Linked DNA regions of Homo sapiens: all the other regions are linked to region 2. Evidence: promoter capture Hi-C in 16 types of primary human blood cells and fetal thymus (Javierre and others, 2016). All regions are on one chromosome and are shown on one strand. Each heading gives the region's core, a stretch centred on a gene start or on the middle of the fragment in contact. The rest is flanking DNA. Distances are from core to core; before and after follow the strand shown. Region 1 overlaps LRRC41 (leucine rich repeat containing 41). Region 2 holds the start of EFCAB14 (EF-hand calcium binding domain 14). Region 3 overlaps NSUN4 (NOP2/Sun RNA methyltransferase 4). Region 4 has its middle 6.0 kb from the start of NSUN4. Region 5 overlaps RAD54L (RAD54 like).

Evidence for each region. Contacts are between HindIII fragments. The CHiCAGO score rates a contact against its expected background, and 5 or more counts as called.
Region 1: a contact is called between a fragment that was not itself captured here and the fragment with the promoter of EFCAB14 in region 2, in 1 of 17 cell types (neutrophils). The highest score is 5.6, in neutrophils.
Region 3: a contact is called between a fragment that was not itself captured here and the fragment with the promoter of EFCAB14 in region 2, in 1 of 17 cell types (neutrophils). The highest score is 6.9, in neutrophils.
Region 4: a contact is called between a fragment that was not itself captured here and the fragment with the promoter of EFCAB14 in region 2, in 3 of 17 cell types (neutrophils, monocytes and total CD4 T cells). The highest score is 7.4, in neutrophils.
Region 5: a contact is called between a fragment that was not itself captured here and the fragment with the promoter of EFCAB14 in region 2, in 2 of 17 cell types (neutrophils and monocytes). The highest score is 5.4, in neutrophils.

Annotation. Positions count from the first base shown.
Region 1 is chr1:46,290,251-46,292,950 of GRCh38, forward strand. All of the region lies in intron 3 of LRRC41 (leucine rich repeat containing 41), which reads right to left. Among named protein-coding and RNA genes, the nearest start is that of LRRC41, 12 kb to the right of the region's middle. The HindIII fragment of the contact is 8,091 bases long and covers 1-2,700 here.
Region 2 is chr1:46,717,665-46,720,364 of GRCh38, forward strand. EFCAB14 (EF-hand calcium binding domain 14) reads right to left here and starts at 1,450. Exons shown (of 11, transcript NM_014774.3): 1 at 239-1,450. The coding sequence starts at 423. RefSeq lists silencers at 1,255-1,304, 1,625-1,674. The HindIII fragment of the contact is 11,051 bases long and covers 1-2,700 here.
Region 3 is chr1:46,351,709-46,354,408 of GRCh38, forward strand. It overlaps NSUN4 (NOP2/Sun RNA methyltransferase 4), which reads left to right. Exons shown (of 6, transcript NM_199044.4): 4 at 1,160-1,320. Among named protein-coding and RNA genes, the nearest start is that of NSUN4, 12 kb to the left of the region's middle. The HindIII fragment of the contact is 4,922 bases long and covers 1-2,700 here.
Region 4 is chr1:46,333,412-46,336,111 of GRCh38, forward strand. No RefSeq gene overlaps it. Among named protein-coding and RNA genes, the nearest start is that of NSUN4, 6.0 kb to the right of the region's middle. RefSeq lists a silencer at 529-578. The HindIII fragment of the contact is 1,082 bases long and covers 765-1,846 here.
Region 5 is chr1:46,251,547-46,254,246 of GRCh38, forward strand. The region is part of intron 3 of RAD54L (RAD54 like); the gene reads left to right. Among named protein-coding and RNA genes, the nearest start is that of RAD54L, 5.1 kb to the left of the region's middle. The HindIII fragment of the contact is 4,720 bases long and covers 1-2,700 here.

The DNA of each region.
Region 1 (2,700 bases), core at 120-2,619, 430 kb before region 2:
TAGAAAAAATGTAGCTGGGCATAGTGGTGCATGCCTGTAATCCAGCTACTTGGGAGGCTGAGGTGGGAGGATCGCCTGAGCCTGGGAGGTTGAGGCTGCAGTGAGCTAAGATCGTGCCACTGCACTTCAGCCTGGGCAACTGGAGTGAGACCGTCTCAAAAGTGTAAACTAACTCTGGAGTATTTACATATATGAGAGTACCTATATATATTTGTTTTTACAACATTGAGACAATTCTGAACAGTTTCAAATGCTGGGCTTTTAAAACATACCATGTATTCAAATATTTTTAGAATATTTTATTTTGAAAATGTGTACCATATGTAATAATACTTGCTGTATTTAATATTTCCATTGTTTCTAGCTTTTTTTTTTTTTTTTCCTCTGTCGCCCTGGTCTGGGCTGGAGTGCAGTGGTACAATATTAGCTCACTGAAACCTCTGCCTCCCGGGTTCAAGCAATTCTTGTGCCTCAGCCTTCCAAGTAGCTGAGACTACAGGCACACAACACCATGTCCAGCTAATTTTTTGGTATTTTTTAGTAGACAGGGTTTCGCCATGTTGGCCAGGCTGGTCTCAAACTCCTGAGCTCAGGTGATCCACCTGCCTTGGCCTCCCAAAGTGTTGGGATTACAGGCGTAAGCCACCATGCCCGGCCTGTTTCTAGTTTTTTTTTTTTTTTTTTTTTTTTTTTTAAGACATTCCTGCTCTGTTGCCCAGGCTGGAGTACAGTGGCACGATCTCGGCTCACTGCAACCTCCATCTCCCAGGTTCAAGCTATTCTCCTGCCTCAGTCTCCCAAGTAGCTGGGATTACAGGCACGTGCCACCACACCCAAATAAATTTTGTATTTTTGGTAGAGATGGGGTTTCGCCATGTTGGCCAGGCTGGTCTTGAACTCCTGACCTCAAGTGATCCGCCGCCTTGGCCTCCCAAAGTGCTGGGATTACAGGTATGAGCCACAGTGCCTGACCCTGTTACTAGCTTTTTTATATTAAACTCTTCTGTAATAAACATCTGGAAATAAATCTTCATGAGTATCTCAATTTTTATATACTATAAATTCTAAGGAGTAGAACTTATAGCCAAATTATTTTTTTAAGAGACAGGGTCTTGTCCCATCACCCAGGGCTGCAGTGCAGTGGTGAGATCATAGCTCACTGTAGCCTTGAATCCTGGGGCTCATGCAATCTTCCTGCCTTAGCCTCCCAAGTAGTAGGGACTATAGACGCATGCCACTATGCACAGCTAATTTTTAAATTTTTTCTGTAGAGATAAGGTCTCACTGTGTTGCCCCAGCTGGTTTTTTTTTTTTTTTTTTTTTTTTTGAGATGGAGTCTTGCTCTGTCGCCCAGGCTGGAGTGCAATGGCACAATCTTGGCTCACTGCAACCTCCACCTCCCAGGCTCAAGTGATTCTCCTGCCTCAGCCTCTTGAGTAGCTGGGACTACAGGCATGCGCCACCACGCCCGGCTAATTTTTGTATTTTTAGTAGAGACGGGGTTTCACCATATTGGCCAGGCTGGTCTTGAACTCCTGACCTCAGGTGATCCACCTGCCTCGGCCTCTCAAAGTGCTGGGATTACAGGTGGGAGCCACCACGCCCAGCCTAAATTTTCTGGGGAGGAGAGGGTCTCTGTCAGCCAGGCTGGAGTGCAGTGGTGCTATTATAGTTCACTGCAGCCTCAACCTCCTGGGCTCAAGTGATCCTCCCACCTTAGCTTACCAATTAGCTGGGAGGTACATGCCAACACGCCCAGCTAATTTTTAAAAATTATTGCAGGCCGGCCACAGTGGCTTATACCTATAATCCCAGCACTTTGGGAGGCCAAGGTGGGTGGATCACTTGATGTCAGGAGTTCGAGACCAGCCTGGCCAATGTGGTGAAACCTTGTCTCTACTAAAAATACAAAAAGTAGCCGAGCTGATGGGCGCCTGTAATCTCAGCTACTTGGGCCAAGATCATACCACTGCACTCCAGCCTGGGTGACAGAGAGAGACTCTGTCTCAAAAAAAAAAAAAAATTATTGTAGAGATGGGGTTTCCCTGTGTTGCCCAGACTGGTCTCGAATTCATGGGCTCAAGTGATCCTCTTGCCTTGGTGTTCTAAAGTCTGGAATTACAGGTAAGAGCCACCACATCCAGCCAGCCTAGATATTTTAAAGTCTGAACAAATATTACCAGATTGCCTACCAAGAAAGTTACAACAATTTCTGTTCCCTCCAATAGCATAGTAAAATGCAAATTTCGCCATGGCCAAACCTAGGCATTACCTTTGCGATGAAAACCAAATCAAAACAAGACTTTACTAAACTAAGAGGTGAAATAGGGATTTTACTTTCTCACTTTTATCATGAGACAACATTTTTCACTTTACTGGGGATTTTTGTGTATTTCATGATGTGTCCAAATCCTTACTCATTTTATTTTACTGGGATATTTGTCTTTTTATTTTGTGTCCCTTTGTTTTGCAAATATTGTTGCAAATGTTCTTTCCCAGTGTATTTACCTTTTAAAATTTGGTTATGGTGTTGGCATTTTCATTTTTTTAATTTAATCAATACAAAGTCCTGAAGATAGTGTTAGCATTTTATGTGGTTAAATATGTCTGTATTTTCTTTCTTGGTTCTGTGCATTTAATAATTAGCACTCTCGGCTGGGCACGGTGGCTCACGCCTATAATCCCAGCACTTTGGGAGAC
Region 2 (2,700 bases), core at 200-2,699:
TCCACATTTCCACCTCAGATTTGGAGCTTTTCTTTCTACACCTAAAGACAGATCTCTAACTTATTCTTCATTCAGGATCTGAACTTACCTTCTCCCTAAAACCGTTTTTCCCTCTTTGACTTCCAAGGCCTACACCCTTTTTTCTTCCTAAGGACTTCCTTTCTCCTTCCTGTCAATGTGGCCCCTTGGTAGTGCAAGGAGATGCCTTCTTCCCATTCCACCTTTCACCACTACTCACTTGGCAAAGCGAGAGCGATTTCCAACCACACCGAATTCCTCTTCCTCTTCGGAGCTGGACTCAGAGTCTGAGTCGGGAGGCTCAGTGCGAAGCAGGCGGTGACTGCTTGGGCCTTTCTTGGGCTTCTTTCTCCGGCTGTCCCCAGCCAAACCAATCAATGCATTGAGCTCTTTGCGCTTTTTCATCTTTTTGTGTGGGGTGAGTGGAGCCCCGACTCCTGAGCTGCCAGGTTCGTACCCGATGCCCAATTCTCTTCCTGCCTTGGAGCTGCCTTCCAGGGTTGGGAATCCTGGGCCAGAGCCCCCTGGTCACTCCCACCTAGGGGTGGGACTGACCAGATCCGCCAGGGACTGGAGATTGGAGCCCAGAGGAAACTGGAACTCAGATGGGTGGGGGAAATCACATAGAAATGGCCAAGGAGCTGGTGACCCCAAAGGATAAGGCCTTGGGTGCAGAGTGTTAGTAGAGGGTGGAGAGGGACCTTTATCTCCCAAAGGGCGAAAAAAAAGCCAGGTCAAAAATGAAGGATTCTCAGCCCGGATAAGTAGGCAATACTTCTAAGGGTGCTCCAGGAGGTGAGGAAGGGCACGCTTAAAATACGTGTTTCGGACCTCCGGAGCAAGATTTCCAATGGAGAGGGAAGAGAAACTCGTTCTTGAATGGGAAGAGAGTGGGGAGGTGCAGAGTAAGAAAGTGGGAACGCGTCAGTCCCTTCCTTGCAGGAGAGGTGGCGGCAGGAGGGGGCTCCCAGCAGCTACAATCCCAACACTGCTTGGCCGCAGAGAAAATGCCCTGGCCAGGAAGCCGGCTGGGGTGTGTGATGATCACCGTTCTCCGGCCTCCGTCCTGAACGTGAAGGGGGCCCGAGGCCGAGGAAGATCCGGAGCCCGGCTAGAAGGGTCGGCCTGAGAGAAGCCAGTCCCGCGCCTGATAGACCCCCGCCCCGCTGTCTGGGCCTTGGGGACACGGTGCCGCGGGCGACGGCGGCTCGGCCGACCGAAAGCGCTCCCGCCCGGAGTTTGAGGTCTCCGGCACGGGCAACTCTCGGCCACTCACACGCGCAGGCCCCACTCCAGCCGCGACTCCGGCCCCTGCTCCGGCTTCGGCCGCGGCTGCTCCCGACACGTTGTTGTTGGCGTTGGTGGCGGCGGCTGCGGCGGCGGCGGCCGCGAGCTCCAGCCCCGGGCCATCGCTCCAGCCCCAGATCACTTCCCCTTTGGCAGCGGCCGCCTGCGCCGCCTGCCAGTAAGCCGCACTCCCATTGGTCGCCCGCTGGGGTGACGTCACGCCGGGGCGAAAGTCGTGGCGGAGAGGTGGGGCGTTAAAGGGGCCCTGCCCCGGCTGGGGCTGGGTCCCACCTGCCGATTAGGGTGGCCCCGCCCCCAGGAGGGCTTCCGGGACCTGCTGCGAACCTGAGCCGGGTGGAGTCCTGCATCCTGCGGAGCGCGGGCGGGGCAGGCAAAGCGCCCGGCTGCTCGACCTACTTCGAAAGTTCATCAGCCGCCCACGCCCCCTGGACTAACCAAGTCTGAAGGCTCCGCCTCTCTGACTCTCACACAGGCTGTTAAAAGTTTAGGCGCGTTTCAGATTAATTAACACATTCATTCAGTCAATAAATATTTATTGAGAGCTTACTTACTACGTGTCAGGAGCTGTTCTAGCGCTGGGGATACAGCCATGAACAAAATAACCAGGGTCCTTGTCTTCCTGTATAGTGTTGCCAGATTTAGCAAATAAAAATGTAGGACACCCAGTAAAGTTTGAATTTCAGAGAAACAGCAAACAATTTTTTAGCATTAAGACATCCCATGCAACATCTGGGACATCCTCACACTAAAAAATTATTCATTGTGTATGTGAAATGCAAGTTTAACTGAGCATCGTGTATCTTATCTGCCAATCTATTCCTGCAGTTTATTTATACTCTAGAGGGAGGAGAGCAACAATAGGCAAACATATTAAATGTCAGGAGGTGATAAGTGTTATGATGAAAATTGAAACACGGTCAGGTGATGGGGAGTGCCTCTGTGAAAAGGGAACATTTAGTCAGCTTATCGGAGGAGAGGTGAGGGAATGAGCTGTGCAGTGGCTGCAGGAAGGAGTGACCAGGAAGACCTGTTGTGGCTGGACCAGAAGAGCAAGGAGCAGAGTGATAGGAAATGAGGTCAGAGAAGCATCAGAGGCCAGGGCTTTAGGGCCTTATGGATCACTGAAAGGACTTTGGGAAAGCACTGGGGGCTTTAAGCTGAGAGGTAGCATACTCTGGCTTTTCCGTAAAAAAAAAAAAAAAAAAAAAAATTCACTCTGGGCCAGCGCGATGGCTCACGCCTGTAATCCCAGCATTTTGGGAGGCTGAGGTGGGCGGATCACAAGGTCAGGAGATGGAGACCATCCTGGCCAATATGGTGAAACCTTGTCTCTATTAAAAATACAAAAATTACCTGGGCGTGGTGGTGCGCGCT
Region 3 (2,700 bases), core at 36-2,535, 370 kb before region 2:
GGCTGGAATGCAGTGGCGCCATCTCGGCTCACTGCAAGCTCTGCCTCCCGGGTTCACGCCTTTCCCCTGCCTCAGCCTCCCGAGTAGCTGGGACTACAGGTACCCACCCCCATGCCCGGCTAATTTTTTGTATTTTTAGTAGAGACGGGGTTTCACCATGTTAGCCAGGATGGTCTCGATCTCCTGACCTTGTGATCCGCCTGCCTTGTCCTCCCAAAGTGCTGGGATTACAGGTGTGAGCCACCGTGCCTGGCCTTCCAGTCTCTTTTTAAAAAATTATTTAAATATATTTTTATTTTTGTAGAAATGAGGTATCGCTATGTTGCCCAGGCTGGTCTTGAACTCCTGGGCTGAAGCAATCCACCTACTTTGGCGTCCTCCCAAAGTGCTGGGATGAGAGGCGTGAGCCACTATGCCCAGACTCAGAGACCCTGTCTTTAAAAAAAAAAAAAAAGAATGTGGCTGGGTGCAGTGGCTCACACCTGTAATCCTAGCACTTTGGGAGGCCAAGGCAGGCGGGATCACCTGAGGTCAGGAGTTCAAGACCAGCCTGGCCAACATGGTGAAATGCTGTCTCTACTAAAAATGCAAAAATTAGCCGGGTATAGTGGTGCACACCCATAGTCCCAGCTACTCAGGAGGCTAAGGCATGATAATCACTTGAACCCAGGAGGTGGAGGTTGCAGTGAGCTGAGAGTGTGCCACTGAACTCCAGCCTGGGCGACAGAATGAGACTCTGTCTTAAAAAAAAAACAAAAGGAAAGAGAGGGAGAGAAAGAAAAGGAGAGAAAGGAAAGGGAGGAAAGGGGAGAGGGAAAGGAGAGAAGAAAGGCGAAAGTAATGGGGAAAGGAAAAGGGGAAAGGGGAAAGAAAGGGGAGAAAGGGGAGAGAGGACAGGAAAGGAGAAAGGAAAGGAGTCTTACTTGGTCTGCTTTATTCATTGACTTAAATAACTTTGATACTTTCTGGCCCATTTAGGTGTTTGCCATTGTACCCCCACTCAGAATGACTGATGCTGTGCCATGCACATAATAAATGTTCCTGATGCTGGGGTTTGCATTGGCTGGGACTACCTGAGAATTGGTCTGACTCCATCAGCGCCATTGCTGGTGGAATGTTTCATTGGGTCATGGCCTCTGAAGTATCTTTATTTCCATAGGCAATCTTGCTGCCAATGATCTCTCCCCGTCCCGAATAGCCAGACTACAGAAGATCCTTCACAGCTATGTGCCTGAAGAGATCAGGGATGGAAATCAAGTTCGAGTTACCTCATGGGATGGCAGGAAATGGGGAGAACTGGAGGGGGACACCTATGACCGGGTGAGTGATTCTTGATTTAGGACATGCATCCAGCTTAATGCGGCCTCCCCATCCTGGTTCTAGGGCCTGAGGGGTTAGGATCCAGCCCCTATGTTTGAGCATGTAGAGCTGTTTCTGGACTGGCCAGTTCTACATTGGTGATTTGACCAAAAGAAAAATCAGCTTAGATGACTGGTTATTATCTCTATTAAAGATAGTTGGCAGCAAAAAAGAATTTGAAACTATTTGAGTAGGGGAAAAATTTACTAGGCTTACTTTATTTCTCAAGTCACTTGGTTGCTCAGAAAGCCTCATGAAGGTAAGTAAGAATAAGCTCATTTATTTATTTTTGAATGTTAGTACAGCACATGGTACAAAATTCAGAAGGCACAAAAGAGTATCCAATGAAAAGTGAGTTTTTCTCATCTGGCCTGTAGCCCCCTACTTCCCCACCCTATAGATAACGATTGTTTCTTTTTTTTTTTTGAGACGGAGTTTCGCTTTTGTTGCCCAGGCTGGAGTGCAATGGCGCGATCTCTGCTCACTGCAGCCTCCGCCTCCTGGGTTCAAGCAATTCTCTGCCTCAGCCTCCCGAGTAGCTGGGATTACAAGCGCCCACCACCACGCCCGGCTAATTTTTGTATTTTTTTTAGTAGAGACGGGGCTTCACCATCTTGGCCAGGCTGGTCTTGACCTCCTGACCTCGTGATCCACCCGCCTCGGCCTCCCAAAGTGCTAGGATTACAGGCGTGAGCCACTGCGCCCAGCCGGTAGTATATTATATTATACTCACTATTCTGAACTTTGTATTTTTTTATTTAATAATGTGTCCTGGGGTTAAATCCTTTTTTAATTTTGTTGACATTGTGGAAGTATAGTTGTTGAATAACAGTTTACATCCATTTAAGATTTTGATAGCGATTGCTAAATTTCTCTGTGGAGGTTAAACCAGTTTCACTCCTACTGGTAATGAATGAGTACTGATTTCCCACATGCTGCCAATATTGGTGCTATCAAACTTAATTTTTTTGCCAAATGGATAGTATCTAATTTACAATCTCTTATTAATCATGTTGAAAATCTCCATATTAATTTTTTTAAAGTTTTTTTTTTTTGAGTGGCAGGTTTTCACTTTGTCACCCAGGCTGGAGTACAGTGGTGTGAACACGGCTCACTGCAGCCTCAACCTCCTGGGCTCAAGGGGTCCTCCTGCCTCAGTTTCCCGAGTAGCTGGGACTAGAGTGTGCCACCATGCCCAGCAAATGATTTTTTGTAGAGACGGGGTCTCACTATGTTGCCCAGGCTGGCCTCGAACTCCTGGGCTTGAGCAGTCCTCCCACCTTGTCCTCCCAAAGTGCTGGGATTATAGGTGTGAGCCACTGTGCTGGGCCAGTCTCTTCA
Region 4 (2,700 bases), core at 56-2,555, 380 kb before region 2:
CACGCCCAGCTAATTTTTGTATTTTTAATACAGATGGGGTTTCATTATGATGGCCAGGCTGGTCTCGAACCCCCGGCCTCAAGTGATCTACCTGCTTTGGCCTCCCAAAGTGCTGGGATTACAGGCCTAAGCCACCACACCTGGCCGCCCCTTTAAGATTAAGGAGGAGTATCTAATCTCTGAGGGGGAATGAAGTAGGGGACTGGCAGGAATTATTTCCAGCTCCCAAGGTGCCGCTTAGATAAAATGAAGAAACCGGCAGGAACCAGCAGATGGCAACAAAAACCATCCCTAGCTACCCTCACTGGTCATTAGCATAAGATACTTCCTCTGGGGCATATTTACAGATGCTATGGCAATGACCAGGAAGTTACTGCCCCTTTCCTAGAAAGTTAGGAATAACCTGCCCCTCAATTTGCATTAGCCTGCTTCTTAATTTGCATCTAATTAAAAGTGGGTGTAAGTGGCTATAAATACAGTTGCTAACAGGACAAGAGCGGCTCTGGGCACACTGCCTATGAGTTGTCTCTACTCTACAAGGAGTAGCTCCAGTTCAATAAAAATTGCTGTTTGACCACTCATGGTGGCTGATGCCTCCAATAACAGCACTTGGGGAGGCTGAGGCAGGAAGATTGCTTGAGCTCAGGAGCTTGAGACCAGCCTGGGCAACATAATGAGATCTTGTCTCTACAAAAAATACAAAAATTAGCTGGTCATGGTGGTGGGCACCTGTGGTCCCAGCTACTTGGGTAGCTGAGGTGGGAAGCTTGTTTGAGCCCAGTAGGTTGAGACTGCAGTGAATTGGGATTGCACCACTGCACTCTAGCCTGGGTGGCAGAGTGAGACCCTGACTCAAAAAAAAATTGCTGTTTAACACCACCGGCTCACCCTTAAATTCTTTCCTGGGCAAAGCCAAGATCCTTCCCAGACTAAGCCCCAGTTTTGGGGCTCGCCTGCCTGTCTGCATCTAAACCACAGCCCTGCACAAAAACCATCACAACCTTACACAAAATACTACTGTGAAAACATCTGCCCAGTAACTGCCTGTCCAACCTTGGACTGATGCTTGTTATTGACTAACCCTTGTTACTAATTCTTGTAGCAAGGGATAATTGTTCCAAAACAACTTACTATGTGTAACGATTCTCACTTTTCCTTTAACCCCCGCCCCCCCTGCTTTTTTTTTCAGGTCAGGCATAGTGGTTCATGCCTGTAATCCCAACTCTTTGAGTGGCCAAGGCAGGCGGTCCCTTGAGCCCAGGAGTTTGAGACCAGCCTGGGTAAAATGGTGAAACCTCATCTCTACAAAAAATATGAAAATTAGCCAGGTGTGGTGGCTTGTGCCAGTAGTAGTCCCAGCTACTTGGGAGGCTGAGGCAGGAGGATTGATTGAGCCTGGGAGGTTGAGGCTGCAGTGAGCCATGACTGTGCAACTGCGCTCCAGCCTGGGCAACACAATGAGACCCTGTCTCAAAAAAAATTAAAAAACAAAAAACAACTCTTGTTTTCCTTTACCTCCTCATATGCCCGTAGGTTAATATGGTACCATATTCCACATTGCAATGCTTACTCCTGAATTAATTGATTATATTTGGATAATCTCTTTTATTTAGTTTGACAACAGAACTAAGGTAGAAAGAAATCAACTATAAATATAAGAGTGGAAATCAATTACATATAAAAGAAACGGAGGAAAACAACAAAACCGAAAGCTAGTCCTTTGAAAAGTTCAATAAAATATATAAACATCTCATTAGCCTGATAAGGTACAAAAGAGGGAAGACACAAATTGCCAATATCAGTAATAGGGGACATCACTAAGGATCCTATAAACCAAAGGTCAGCAAGCTTTTTCTGTAAAGATTCAGGGAGCATGTTTGGCTTTGTGGGCCACACATGATCTGTGGAGCAACTACTTAACTCTATTGCAGTGGTAAAGGAGCCATAAAAATTATGTATTTATATTTCAAAAACAGGCTGCAGGATGAATTTGGCTTGTGGCTGTAGTTTGCCGCCCCATACTATAGACATTAAAAGGATAATAATGGAATATTCTGAAACACTTTATATGAAGACAATCAATACCTTAGATGAAATGGACACATTCTTTAAAAGACTAAAATTGTTGGGGCTGGGCTTGGTGGCTCATGCCTGTAATTCCAGCACTTTGGGAGGCTGAGGCAGGGGGATCACCTGAGGTTGAAAGTTAGAGACCAGCCTGGGCAATATGGTGAAACCCCGTCTCTACTAAAAATACAAAAATTAGCCGGGTATGGTGGTGCGTACCTGTAATCCCAGCTACTCAGGAGGCTGAGGCACAAGAATCTCGAACCTGGGAGGTGTAGGTTGCAGTGAGCTGAGATTGCACCACTGCACTCCAGCCTGGGTGACAGAGTAAGACTCTGTCTCAAAAAAAGAAAAAAAAAAGATTCAAATTGTCAAAACCAATGCAAGAAGAATTAGAAAGTTCAAATAGCTCTATATTAGGGTTTCTCAACCTCAGCACTGTTGATATTTAGGTTGGATAATTGTTGTGGGGAAGGGCTGTCCTGTGTATTGCAGGGTACTGAGCAGTATCCCTGGCCTCTACTGACTAGATGCCAGAATGACCACCCAGTTGTAACAACCCCAAATGTCTCCAGATGTTACCACATGTCCCCCAAGGGAGGGATAAAATCACCACTGCCCTATATCATTAAA
Region 5 (2,700 bases), core at 165-2,664, 470 kb before region 2:
AACAGAGTGAGACCACCTCAAAAAAAAAATCACTAATACATTGTTTAATTGGTTCTTTGAACTTTAAAAAATGGTGTTGGGTGGGCATGTTGGTTCATGCCTGTAATCCCAGCATTCTGGGAGGCCAAGGTAGGCGGATAGCTTGAGCTCAGGAGTTTGAGACCAACCCAGGCAACATGGTGAAACCCCATCTCTACCAAAAATACAAAAAAAATTAGCTGGGCATGGTGGCGTGTGCCTGTTGTCCCAGCTACTTGGGAGGCTGACATGGGAGGATCACTTGAGCTTAGGAGGTGGAGGTTGCAGTGAGCTGAGATTGGCACCATTGCACTCCAGCCTGGGTGACAGAGCGAGACCCCGTCTCAAAAGAAAGAAAATGGTGTTAAAATGGTGTGTAATCCTCTGGGACTGTTTCATTCAGGATTTGTTCAAAGTTGTCCTGTGTAACTACATGGCATAAGTGCAGTTGTGGGAGTGCACAACAGGAGACCTATGGGTCTGGAGATTGGGGAAGACCTGCCTCTGAGAGATGTGCTGTTAAGTCCTGAAAGATATGAGGGGTTAGACAGGTGAAGGGAGTGGAAAACATTCTAATAGAAGGAACAGCTTATTGGAAAGACTGGCAGCAATAGAGGCAGGTACTGAAAAGAGAGTGTGGGGAGTTGGGGGATGGTGGTGAGAGATGAGAGTTGGAGAGCTGTGCAGTGGCTAAGAGTGGAAGGCCTTTCAGAAGCCATGCTAGGAGAGTCTGGACTAAGGTCACTGAAGAGCTTTAGAAGTGTTTTAAGTGGGGGTAGGAGGTAACAGCAGTATAGAATATTTGTTGGATGGGGAGAGACTGGAGGTAGGGAAACTAGTGAGAAAGCTATTGCAGGTGGCCAAGCAAGAGAGGATTATGGCCTGGACATGGGTTTTAGGGGAATGGGGAATGGGAAGAAGTGGGTGGATTTTGAGAGATACTTAAAAATTACAAGTGGAAAAACTTGGGATTGATTACATGTGGGGAGAGGGAAAATTGAGGATGAAGTTGGGATTTTAGGCTTTGGCAAGGTAGATGGATGGTGGTGTCATTTGCTGAGATAGGGAACACAGAAGAAGAATGGCATTTGGTGGGAGGGAGATGGCAGGCACTGTAATCAGGAGGCCCATGAAGTTCAATGTATTATACAAGAGCTATTCTCTTTTAATAGCAAAGTTACAGGAATAGAACAGAAGATAGACAACATTAAAAATGTACTTGCAGGCCAGGTGTGGTGGCTCACACCTGTAATCCCAGCACTTTGGGAGGCTGAGGCAGGAGGATCACTTGAGCCCAGGAGTTTGAGACCAACTTGAACAACATAGTGAGACCCTATTTCTAAAAAACAATAAATAAATTGGCTGGATGTGGTTGCACGTGACTGTAGTCCCAGCTACTCTGGAGGCTGAGGTGGGAGGATCGTTTGAGCTGAGGAGGTCAAGGGTGCAGTGACCCGTGATACTGTCAGTGCACTCCACCCTGGGTGACAGAGACCCTGTCTCAAAAGGAAAAAAAATACTTGCGTATAGGAAAATTCAGAAAAGTATAGTTAATGGGTAGAATCTGCTGTATGATAAGAATGCTACTAACACTGTTTAGTTGCTGTCAATAAGAAATTGTATTTTAAAAAATCCATTGTCCAGAAGATATGAACAGGTTTGTTTATGGTTGTTATAAAATTGAAGTGCTGAAACTTGTTCACTGAAACATTTTGACTTGTATTAATGCTTTACATCCCTACATTTATATTAAGAATTCACACAAAAGGCCGGGCACGTTGGCTCACGCCTATAATCCCAACACTTTGGGAGGCCTAGGCGGGCGGATCACAAGGTCAGGAGATCGGAGATTGAGACCATCCTGGCTAACATGGTGAAACTCCATCTCTAGTAAAAAGTACAAAAAATTAGCTGGGTGTGGTGGCGGGCGCCTGTAGTCCTAGCTACTCGAGAGGCTGAGGAATGGCATGAACCCGGGAGGTGGAGCTTGCAGTGAGCCAAGATTGTGCCACTGCGCTCCAGCCTGGTGACAGAGCGAGACTCTGTCTAAAAAAAAAAAAGAATTCACACAAAAAATGAAAATGGAAAAACTGCAAACTGCAATACCGGATTTCTGTCCCCTATTTTTCTACTCACAGTGATATACTTAGGTACTCTTTTTTTTTTTTTTTTTTTTTGAGACAGAGTCTTGTGTTCTCACCCAGGCTGGAGTGCTGCAGTGGTGCTGTCTTGGCTCACCTGCTTACTTATCTCCATTCTCCTTCAGCTGGAGCTTGGTGAGCTAACACTGCACTTAGAGAGCGATGGTGATCTTTAATTCCTTTTGAAATCAGAAGAAAAAAAATACATAGTAATCCAGCCTGATTATATTATTATAGTTATCTTTATACCAATGCAGTCTTTTTTGTTTTTGTTTTTTCTTTTTTTTGATAGGGAGTCTTGCTCTGTCGCTCAGAATGGAGTGCGGTGGCGTGATCTTGGCGCACTGCAACCTCTGCCTCCCAGGTTCAGGCGATTCTCCTGCCTCAGCTTCCTGAGTAGCTGGGATTACAGGCACCCGCCACCATACCTGGCACATTTTTGTGTTTTTAGTAGAGACATGGTTTTACCATGTAGGCCAGGCTGGTCTTGAACTCTTGACCTTGAGTGATCTGCCTGCCTCAGCCTCCCAAAATGCTGGTA